Regions from separate parts of the Homo sapiens genome. Here all the other regions are linked to region 3. The links are contacts of gene promoters, found by promoter capture Hi-C in blood cells and fetal thymus (Javierre and others, 2016). All regions are on one chromosome and are shown on one strand. The core of a region is centred on a gene start or on the middle of the fragment in contact, and the rest is flanking DNA. Distances in the headings are between cores, read along the strand shown.

Region 1 (3,695 bases), core at 1,180-3,679, 120 kb after region 3:
GAGTCCAGGACAGTCCAGATGCTACTGGGTTAGTGACAATAAAAAGAATACCCTCTGGAAACTAGACAGAAAGTTCCAAAACTACTCTCAATGTAGCTGAAACATTTTATATCTGCATTAAAATTCTTTTCCATAATGTACTTTTATATTTCAGTAACAGCAAATGAAAAATGTTATAGACATAAAATGGATTTCAAAACACATCTGTAGTAAGCTGACTTACAAACCAACTTTTAAAATACCACATATTAAATTGAGGCTGTAAACTTATAATTTATAATGAAATGAAAACTTTACCTTCCAATGGAATGTCTAAAAGATTGGCATGCTTTGTTTTCACATGAGTTTCCATATCTTCACTGTGCTCCTCTATTTTTCCACAGAATGGACATTCAGGAGGACTGTATGTTGTTTCATAAACAGATCCTTTTATTTCGGTCAGGCTGGACTGTTTTTCCCTACTTTTCAGGAATTTTCTAGATTCAGTTAAGTTCTCTGAATAGAAGCCTTCATGTTTTAAAGTACTATCTTTAGTCAGGTTTTGAGCTGAATTTTTTGGATGATTAGATGCACAACCTGAAAGAATACTTGAATTAACTTCCATTCCACACTGTAGGGTGTTGTCTTTCTTGTTATCTGAAGTTCCATATTGTACTGTATTTATCCTCTCAAAGTTTCTTTCAAGTGTATTCTGCTCAAAATGAGCTGTTTCGATATGAAAACACATTTCATCATAATTCACACCTGACAACTTGCAAAATGGACATATAATTTCACTTTCCATGTGAACAATTAGGTGAGCTTTCATGTCTGGTTCTGAGGTTACTGTTTCACCACAAATATTACAGGAAAGCATGGTATTGACAAGTAGCTAGAAAAGAACATAACATTAGGTTTCAAAGATTTGAAGAAAAAATGTGTTTCATAAAATGATTTGAGACAATTACTTGGTCTTTAACGCTGGATTATTTTGATGAAGAAGTTTTCAATGTACTTACTGTTCCTCAAATACAAAAACTTATTTATAAATATCAACCAAAATTTCATTTATTTTTTTTTAAAAAAAGGCAATAATAATGAATACAAGTAATTTTAAAAATAAAATATTTCAAAAAATGTCTCTGGCCCAAGGTGGAGAAAAAATAACGTTTAAAAAATTGTCCAGGTAAGATAAATCAGGTAAGAAAAAAATGAAGAGAAGAAACCTATTTATCAACTGATATATCTAAATACTGAATACTGAAGCTGATTATATTGAGGAGGTAAATAAACACATCTTACAAGTAGAGTTTAACACTGTAAACTTAGAGTCTTACATGTATCAAGTGCTATTTAAGTGCTATTATTGTAATTTAAGTACTATTATTATCGCTCTACACATAAAGAAATTCTGGCTCAGACAGGTCACCACAAGCAGAAAAAGGTGGAAGCCAAAATGCCAACCCCGTCGTGCTCCACAGCCTGTACTCTCAGCCCCAAGAATAAAAGCAGAAGTGGTATAGTAGAAAAAAGCACTTATTCCAGAGTCAAGAGAACTGGGTAATAATTTCAGATTCATCATTTTGGGTAAGGAATCTCATCTCTCTGAGGTTCAGTCAAAGACTACTGTAAAATCCAAAGGTAGTTATTTTTGGATTTTATGGACAAATAAAGTACTGACTACTGACATAAAAGTGTTAAAAAAATAATTTTAAAAAAAGCAATCACTTCGCCACCACCTTCCTACTACAGGTCATCGTTCAGCTAAAGACTATTTAAAATCAAACAGGAAAAGTAATGACACTATCACTTCATTTAAATAAATTTACCTTTAAAATACCTCCCTACATTGTCCTTATTTTTTTCATTTCTCTCCAGACAAATGGATACAGTCTCTGATTTTAGAAGGCAGTTCTCCCGAGCCCCCAGTGGGATTAATGTCACACCCGGAGTTTCTTCTCTTCCGGTGGCTGGGACACGGTCAGACACAGAATGATGAACTTGGACATGGACTCAGATTAAGCGGGTAAGAGACAAGAGAGTACCCAGGTGCCTCAGAGGAAGCGAGTGAGAGGCATGAAGGACCCAGTGCCAAGCTAGGTACGTGGTGGGTGAGGTCAGAAGACCGCAAGGCCGAGTCTCCCAAACGTTCCGCGCCAAAGGCACAAGCCAGGCACACGAAACTAGCAGGCACTAACTGGGTCAAAGCTTTGGGCCTGGGGAATAAGGGAGGGGACCATCAATTCTTACCGGCCCAGAGGCCAGCAGCTGCCACACTGAGCTCCGCTAGGCTTCCCCTTTGGGCCTCGCTGGCAGACGAGTGCGTGCGCGGCGTCCAGTACCTCTCCTGGCCTGATGACTGAGGCCAGGCCTTCCCAATACGCAGAGTTTCACAGTTAACCGAGGAAAGAATTAGGAACTTCCAACACCTTGGCCCTCAGTACCTCATTCAAAAGCACTTCCTTACTCCCACGGAAAAGAAGTAATCCCAGAATGCGCCGCTCCACGCCGGTCTCTATGCAGTGCATTCTGGGAGATGTAGTCTTTTTTTTTTTTTTTTTTTTTTGAGACGGAGTCTCGCTCTGCTGCCCAGGCTGGAGGGCAGTGCGCGATCTCGGCTCACTGCAAGCTCCGCCTCCCGGGTTCACGCCATTCTCCTGCCTCAGCCTCCCGAGTAGCTGGGACTACAGGCGCCCGCCACCATGCCTGGCTAATTTTTTGTATTTTTAGTAGAGACGGGGTTTCACCGTGTTAGCCAGGATGGTCTCGATCTCCTGAGAGATGTAGTCATTTTTGCATTCCTCCCATTTCCGAGTTTTTCCTTCTCCCATCGAGTTTCCTGCCACTCAATTGCTAGGAGAGAAAACCGGGCTCTGAGGTCATTCATACTTAATCTGAATGAGTTCACAGGGCAGGTCCTGGGGCAAATAGCAGTCTACACTAGGGCCTGCTGAGTAGCACTCTATTTTAGTATCAATAAAGGGTTTATAATGCTGCTAGGTATCAAGCTCCCAGCTATGCACCGAAGGTAAAGGATACCAGGTTCTTTCCTCAAGGTTACAAGATAACAAATATCTTGGTTTGTATGTATGTATGTATGTATATATATATATTTTTTGAGACGGAGTCTTGCTCTGTCGCCCAGGCTGGAGTGCAGTGGTGCCATCTCTGCTCACTGCAAGCTCCGCCTCCCGGGTTCACGCCATTCTCCTGCCTCAGCCTCCCAAGTAGCTGGGACTACAGGCGCCCGCCACCACGTCTGACTAATTTTTTGTATTTTTAGTAGAGATGGGGTTTCACCGTGTTATCCCGGATGGTCTCGATCTCCTGACCTCGTGATCCGCCCCCCTCGGCCTCCCAAAGTGCTGGGATTACAAGCGTGAGCCACCGTGCCCGGCCGTATGTATGTATTTTTAGAGAGGAGGACTCTTTCTGTCACCCAGGCCAGAGCACAGTGGCTAAAATAGCTCACCGCAGCCTCGAACTCCTGGCCTCAAATGATCCTCCCATCTCGGCCTCCCAAAGTGTGAGCCACCATGTTAGCCCAAAATCACAAATATCTTGTCATTCAGGCTTTATTTCATTCAACAAATATTTAAAGAGTGTCTATTAGAAAGGCGTTTTGCTTGCAACAGGAGCTGCAGCAGTAATCAAAATACACAAAATTCAGGATTTTTGAGGCTTACATGCTGGTGAGGTAGAGGAAATAAAAAGTA
Region 2 (3,688 bases), core at 17-2,516, 81 kb before region 3:
GGTTACTGCGACACCTTACTCTTAAGGAATTAAGACCTAAAACTGTTGCTTGTTCATCATCATAACTGGCGAGTAGTTGAAACTTTATCTGAGGATTTTTAAATTTCTTGTAAAAAACCAAGTAACTAAATTACTATTTTGTTGTGTTTTCTTAAGGTGTTGGGCTGGATCTTGATAGCAGTTGTTATCATCATTCTTCTGATTTTTACATCTGTCACCCGATGCCTATCTCCAGTTAGTTTTCTGCAGCTGAAATTCTGGAAAATCTATTTGGAACAGGAGCAGCAGATCCTTAAAAGTAAAGCCACAGAGCATGCAACTGAATTGGCAAAAGAGAATATTAAATGTTTCTTTGAGGGCTCGCATCCAAAAGAATATAACACTCCAAGCATGAAAGAGTGGCAGCAAATTTCATCACTGTATACTTTCAATCCGAAGGGCCAGTACTACAGCATGTTGCACAAATATGTCAACAGAAAAGAGAAGACTCACAGTATCAGGTCTACTGAAGGAGATACGGTGATTCCTGTTCTTGGCTTTGTAGATTCATCTGGTATAAACAGCACTCCTGAGTTATGACCTTTTGAATGAGTAGAAAAAAAAATTGTTTTGAATTATTGCTTTATTAAAAAATAAACATTGGTATTTTTTGAGTGCTTTTTTTCTTCCAAATTGTGGAATTTTATATCTGAAATTAAAATATAGAGCTTAACCTCTTTATAATATTATTTAAAACAAACAAAAAAAGAAAGTGATTCATCCAAAGTAAAAGCTAGAACTAAAAGAAGTCTTATATCCTTGTTCTAGAGTCCTTTTCAAATAAAAGACTTTTGGAGCAAAAACAGTGGCAGAACAATTGAACTTCAGACATTTCTGTTAGGTTATCTGATGTTAATTTCAAGTTCATTTTCTTGCCCACAACATCTTGTTAGGAACTTTAAAATTACGGCATTCTAGCTGGTTCTATAGCACAATTGATGGCACATTGGGCTTCTAGTCGAGCCTGCTGTGGTCATTCAAAAATTAGAGCATTTTATGACTCTAATAGGGTTACAATAATAAATTAATCATGAAAAGGAAAATAAACTTTGTAAAATACGAAATTTGAAAAAGTAGTTAAGAGAATTGCAGGCAACAAGTGTTGTTTTTAGTTTATAGGATCAGAGGAAAAGTGTTAAAGCTTATATGTTATGGTAAATATAAACTAAACACAAAAGTAGAGAGGATAGTTTTATGAGCCTCCAAGTAGTTGTTACACAGCTTCAACAGAGTTGGGAAGTCAGATAAAACCAATACCAAACAAATAAATGCAAATTGTGACCTGATTTAGATTAGGGGAGAAGGGATTTGGGGAAGCTTTTTAAAAACTGAATCCTGTAGGGTAGCAAGAAGGAGCATTTCAGTCATACAGATAAAACCAATACCATACAAAGAAATGCAAATTGTGACCTGATTTAGATTAGGGGAGAAGGGATTTGAGGAAACTTTTTGAAAACTGAATCCTGTAGGGTAGCAAGAAGGAGCATTTCAGTCCTACTGAAGGAACAGTATGTGCAAAGACTAGGGAGAAAAAGATGTTAGCAGAGTTGGAAACCTGAAAGGCGACTGAAAAAAATGAGCAAGGGACTGAGTGTGCAGTGCCTGGAAACCATGAGAAGGATTTTGGTTTTCATCATATGAGCATTTTAGGAAGATGGTTTGCTTTCCTTGAGAGAAAAGGAATGACATGGGAAGCAGGAGAGCCAGGGTAGAAGGAGAGAGACTAATCAGGAGGCCACTACAGTGGAAATAGGTGGGAGTGAACTTGAACTGAGTGGATGGGGACCAAAATGGAAAAAGTAGATAGATTCAAGGTAGACTTTGTACATAGATGTGGCAGGATTTGTTGATAGAAAGTCTCTAAAGACGGTGAGAGCAATTATATCTACGGATAAAATTCTGTAACTTTATAATGCCGGGACTTTTCAGCGATCCTTGCCTTCCATTAGCTTGTCATTCCTGCCCATTCCCCAAATTTGTGGCTGTTTTCTGAATTTTAAAATATGAGATAAAAAAACTTTAAACTATAAAATAATTGAGCACTGGTCATATTTAGCCCTTCTTCCTCTTTTGGCAGAAGCTTATGCTGATTTCTGTTTACCTTTTTCTGCATAAGGCCGTTAAAAAGAACTAACCTACAGGGCAGAATATCCTGTTGTTGAGAGTCATGCGTAACAAGAAAGTTGGCAGCAGAAACAGCGTGATCAGCTTTTTTTCATTCCCTAAAAGAATGCTTTTGAAAATCATATCATACCTAGTTTCATTTTTACTTCCTTTATTTCATTTTCCAATTGCTGCTTCCTTTTTCGTCTGAGACAGGATCTCACTCTGTCACCCAGGCTGGAGTGTAGTGGCAAGATCTTGGCTCACCGCAAACTCTGCCTCCCTGACTCAAGTGATCCTCCCACCCCAGCCTCCTGAGTAACTGGGACCACAGGCATGTGCCACCATGCCCAGCTAATTTTTGTACTTTTTGTAGAAATGGGGTTTCACCATGTTGCCCAGGCTGGTCTCGAACTCCTGGGCTCAAGCAATCTGCTTGCCTCAGCCTCAAAGTGCTGGGATTACAGATGTGAGCCACTGCGCCCAGCCTCCAATATCTTTTTGTATATTCTTTCCTTTCAAAACTTTTTTTATGTTCTATCACTTATACTTGCATCTTCAGTAGTATCATATTGTCTCCATTGTTTTGATTTATGCTCCACCTCCTCTTGCACAGTCCTTAATAATTATTGTGAAAATATATATGCTTAAGAAAATAATTGTAATGGTAGAGAATGGTGAGAAGTAAAATAAAATTACCTCATTCCTTTGCAATATATTCTTCTCAGAAGTAGCCATGTATAAACTCTGTGTCTGCATAAACTCTATCATAAGTGTTGTTCTGTAACTTTTACACATAAAGTACAATTATTCCATGTCAGTATCTGACAATTTACCTCATTTAAAAAATTGCTACTTAGTATTTTACTGGTTAGTAGGATATTATCCCTTTTTTGTTAACCCCACCGACCAGCCCCCACACACATGCACACACATTCATAAAGTGTAGAAAGGTAAGCACTAAATTATCAAATGTGGTCCCTTCTGAGGACTAAGATTGGTGCAGGAATTTTTTTTAATTTCATGCACTTTTGATCTTTGGAGTTGTTGTAATGAATAATAAATATTAAATGTATAATTGGAAATTTTTAAAAAGTAACCTTACCCTGGTGTAGAGTTTTACAGTCAAAAAAGCAGTTTTGCATCTTTTATTTCATTTCATTTTAACAAGTTTCCAGGTTACCCGTGAAACACCTCACTCACATTTACAAATGGGAATCGAAAGTTAAAGAGGTTACATCATTAATCCAAAGTTACATGTCAATAAAGGCAAAACCAAAGGTAGGGTACGGATCCTCCCTAGATGATGTAGTTTAATGTGGCCACTGGCTGTTTTTATTACTGGGTCAGATTTTTCCCTTCCTAGCCCATGTGACTTTGTGGGCAGAAGAGATACAGATCTCCTTAGTGACCCTCAATATTTGACGTTTTATCTTGAAACTCAGCAACTACTAACAGGAAAGACCACTTTGAATAAACATGGTGAGACTGAGACACAGTAAGTTATTTCTTGGTGGGAACAAGGTCACTGCTATTTGGCAGAAGT
Region 3 (3,888 bases), core at 286-2,785:
AGAAGAGAGAGAGAGAGAGAGAGAGAGAGAGAGAATGATGAGATTGTTGTGACTAGCAGTAAAACAAAAGAATTTGAAAAAGAGAAAAGTAGAAAAAATCATACCCTACCTACATGCCATGGCCCCAACATTGTGTCCCTTTATAATTAAGGCCAAACTGAAATAGTGGAATTTCTTCTCTGTCCCTGATGGGTGGGCACTATTATATATTGAAATCTATTTTATTTCCAGCTGAGTTTCTGGTTCAGTACCCATAAAGGCCAGCTTTCTCTATTCTGCTTCATGGCCAAGGACTGTACCTTGAACTATCTGTTCAATTGGGTCTCAAATCCATACCACAGATGCCAGGAAAGGTCAACATAAGTTTATCTTTATCGTTTTTAAAACAATAAAAATAATCATATGAATATCTGAAAGAACATCATTAACTATTTCAGTAGGTTATGAATGTATCAGGATAAAAATACATTTTAACTGCTTTATAAAATCAAGTGATTTCGGTATAATATGAACTATGTACCATATATTTTTAGCACTTGAGAGTCCCACAGGAAAATAAATCAAGATCCCAGAAGGCCAGAGGAGGTATCTGCAGGCATTTCAAACTGAAGTATGCTAGTTAGTCACTACAATTCTAAACACCAAGTCTGAAATTACTTAATTATATCAAATGCCCATCAGTCTCCTGACATAATTAACAGAATTTTAAAGTTAACAGTGAGTTTTTGTATCTGTAGTATCTGAGTGACTAAAACTATAAGAGAGTATTAAAGAATATTATTTAAAACTAATCTGCAAAAAAATAAGGTTTATAAATAACTCTTAACCTGGAATATATAGAAAGGATGATATTACATACCAAGCTACAATAAGACTAGGAAACATTTTTAAAGGCAATCCTTTTTTGATGACCTATTTCGATTCAGTTTTACACATAATCAACTATATATATACACACATATATATATACATACATACATATATATACATATACATATATATGTAAGTTCCCATTTCCTGAAGTATGAAATAGAAAAAATTGCTAATATTTTCATATTTTCTGTCAGAGGTGAAAAAATTGACACTCATATTGATATAATTAGTCAGAAAAGAAGACCTTAAAGTGTGTATAAAGAATTGATTATTCTTTATGTAGGAGATAATCATAATTATTCCTAGATGTGTCATTTATGATTCACTTCGCTGAACACTGTCTTTCCTCCACTAAAAATTCTTATAGCATCAGTTTTTAAAATCAATCAGAAATCACTCAAGAAAACATTTTCTCTGAAGTAGAAAAAATCTCTTTGTAGAAAGATCTTACTATTTTATGGTATTCTGGTCTTCGGTGTGCAGGGCGAGACATAGTGCTTGATAGATGAAGAATATGATCTTCAATTTCTCTTCTTTTGCCTGTTTCTTAGAGGTGTATCAGTCCATGTCTTTTTGTTTTGTTTTTGTAAGCTCTTCCTCGCTTTGAGACAGGAGTGCTGCTTCTGCACTCTGCTGCTTTTGCTCTTTGCTGAGCTGAAGAGGGAAAAAAACCATGAACAACAGGATTGTCTTATAGCCACGTAACTTGCCATGGATCAAATAACTGCTTCATTTGTAAGGATGAATTGTAATCTAGAGCCATAAAAGCTGATAATGTGAAGTCAGACCTGAAGCACTGCAACTCAAAAAATTCTTTAGCCCGAGGGAGTTCAAGAGTGGTGTTTTGTTCTCAGGCCAAGACATTGTTTTAAAATCAGAAACAGAAACCTTCGCAATCCAAGATAGATCTAAATGTTAGCATTATTCAGTCTTGGATTGATTGTTGTAAGAATTAGAGAGACAAGATCAGCAATCTGTAGGTAATAAATCCTGAGTTAAAACGTGATCCCTCAACTACACCAATGGTTATCACACTGTCCCCAAAACCATAGATCCCTATCTTGTGTGATTACAGTATTCAAATATATCTGGTAACTTTTTTGCTTTTCATTAGCAGCAATCAACAACATTAAGGAGTGATAGAATGGGCAATATTTTCTTACAAAACTGTTGTTCAAAATGGGCGCTCTACAGTATCATAATGTATAATGATTCTGATAGAGAAAGTAAGCCCTTAGCTTTCTTTTGAGAGCTCCTGAGACGTAAGCTATTGAAGGCTCTCTTTATTTACGCAGAAATACTTAAAGTTCAAATAAAAAAATCCTTTCACCTTGACAACTGCAGGGTGCAGAGTAGGATCAAAATCTTTCCAGAAATGGAAGCGGAAAACTCAGTTTAGGAAAGTAATTTTCTTCTACTTATAGTTTGAGTCCATTAGTCCTATTTGTTCTGGAAAATTCTTGCTATAAAGTGACAAACTCAAGAATACTTTGACGAAAAGTGTGGTGTAGTTGAAAGAACCTAGGAGGATTTGGAAGGCTCAGGCTGTTGCAGCCCTACCATTTACTGGCTGTGTGGCATTGGGCAAGCCATTTTATTGCTCTATGACTCAGTTTCCACATTTGCAAAATGGCAACAATATCACTCACCTCACAGAATAATTGTGAGAACCAAAGAGACGAGGCGTACCGTAAAACACATTAAAATGCACCATATAATAACTAGTTACTATAGGTTATTCTTGTGGTTGGATAAATTGAATGGAATTCTACAATACCTAAGGCATTTCCATCACTGCATATGTTCTATGACACTATGATCTCAGGAAAATTAATTTCACTTAGTTGTGGGGTATGGGGTGGAGAGTTTTTCAGTAGCAAATAATAACGACTTATATGTATATCAAATTTACAGTTTACAACATGGTTTTCGTTCTCTTCATCTCATTTTAATTCAGATACAATCTGTGAAATAGTACTGTAATCATGGCCATTTTACAGGATAAGAATCTAAAAGTAGAGAGGTTGAGAAATGTATTCAAGGTTATCTGGATGTTGGCAACAAGAAGGGATTTGGGCTAATTTTGATGATTCCAAGTCAAATTTATTTTGTACCGCACACACTCTAATTATGTTAGAGCAAACTATTTTAGAGGCAGACTCAAAAAGCTTACTAAGGTGCAGGGACAGCATGTTGCTGGGTCAATTTGTGGGCAATCCTAGTTCTGAGTAAGATACCCCAGAGAATAACCTACAAAGGGCCTGTGTGCTTGCTGCGAGGTGATGGCGGTACTGGAATCAATTTCACCAAACTCTAATGGCTGTGGTATGGTCACATTATGGCCATCGGGAGAATTCGGGATGTCATTGGATGTATTAGAAAAAGCCGGCTTTTACTTCAGACTGACATGGCTCCCCTCTGCTCCATTGACCTTCCAGTCAAGACACGAGCTTAAGGAAGGAGCAGAGCCCCTGCCAGGTGCTACTGTACAAAGCACAACCTTCACGACCACAGCTGTACTCATCATCACAGGGGACACTGGTTTGCTGGTTTTCAGTCTATGAAACCTGCTAGTCTTCAGCAGCTCTTAGGATGCAAGTGAGCCCTGTGTTCCCCAGACTCCTTTTTTAATGTAAATGTACTCCTCCCTTAAATAGAAGAAAGCACAGAGATGATGTTTCAAGCGGGTACATGATCTATAATGTCTGCCCTGGCAGCCAACTAGGAAAGAATTATTCCAAGATAATGCATAAGCAAAGTTTTTCCTGTTTTACTAAGAGTTCTTTAGTCTTGTTAGGACTAAATCTGGAACTGGGGTTAGGAGAAAGACACATTCTTCAGTCTGGTAAAACTGCACTGCAGTCAACCAACCCAAGTAAATGGTGAATTGAGCTATGCCCCTATGCTGGTCCTTTGGGAATACATGGGCAGCAGAGTAGACACTTGGGAAGGTGCTAATAGAGGATGACATCCGCTGATCTGTCGGTTGTATGATCACCCGCAAACTATCAGAGA

Evidence for each region. Contacts are between HindIII fragments. The CHiCAGO score rates a contact against its expected background, and 5 or more counts as called.
Region 1: the fragment with the promoter of ZUP1 here is called in contact with the fragment with the promoter of TRAPPC3L in region 3 in 10 of 17 cell types (fetal thymus, non-activated CD4 T cells, total CD4 T cells and 7 more); the score reaches 7.2 in fetal thymus.
Region 2: a fragment that was not itself captured here is called in contact with the fragment with the promoter of TRAPPC3L in region 3 in 4 of 17 cell types (naive B cells, total B cells, monocytes and 1 more); the score reaches 11.0 in naive B cells.

The regions. Positions count from the first base shown.
Region 1 is chr6:116,666,337-116,670,031 of GRCh38, forward strand. It overlaps ZUP1 (zinc finger containing ubiquitin peptidase 1), which reads right to left and starts at 2,430. Exons shown (of 10, transcript NM_145062.3): 1 at 2,230-2,430; 2 at 298-871. The coding sequence starts at 856. RefSeq lists a silencer at 1,354-1,503 and an enhancer at 2,265-2,454. The HindIII fragment of the contact is 3,066 bases long and covers 2,186-3,695 here.
Region 2 is chr6:116,463,127-116,466,814 of GRCh38, forward strand. CALHM6 (calcium homeostasis modulator family member 6) reads left to right here. Exons shown (of 3, transcript NM_001010919.3): 3 at 157-645. The coding sequence ends at 579. It overlaps CALHM6-AS1 (CALHM6 antisense RNA 1), which reads right to left and starts at 578. Exons shown (of 2, transcript NR_174951.1): 1 at 493-578. The HindIII fragment of the contact is 176 bases long and covers 1,179-1,354 here.
Region 3 is chr6:116,544,149-116,548,036 of GRCh38, forward strand. TRAPPC3L (trafficking protein particle complex subunit 3L) reads right to left here and starts at 1,536. Exons shown (of 5, transcript NM_001139444.3): 1 at 1,325-1,536. The coding sequence starts at 1,366. It also overlaps a transcript of CALHM4 not described here. The HindIII fragment of the contact is 9,007 bases long and covers 1-3,039 here.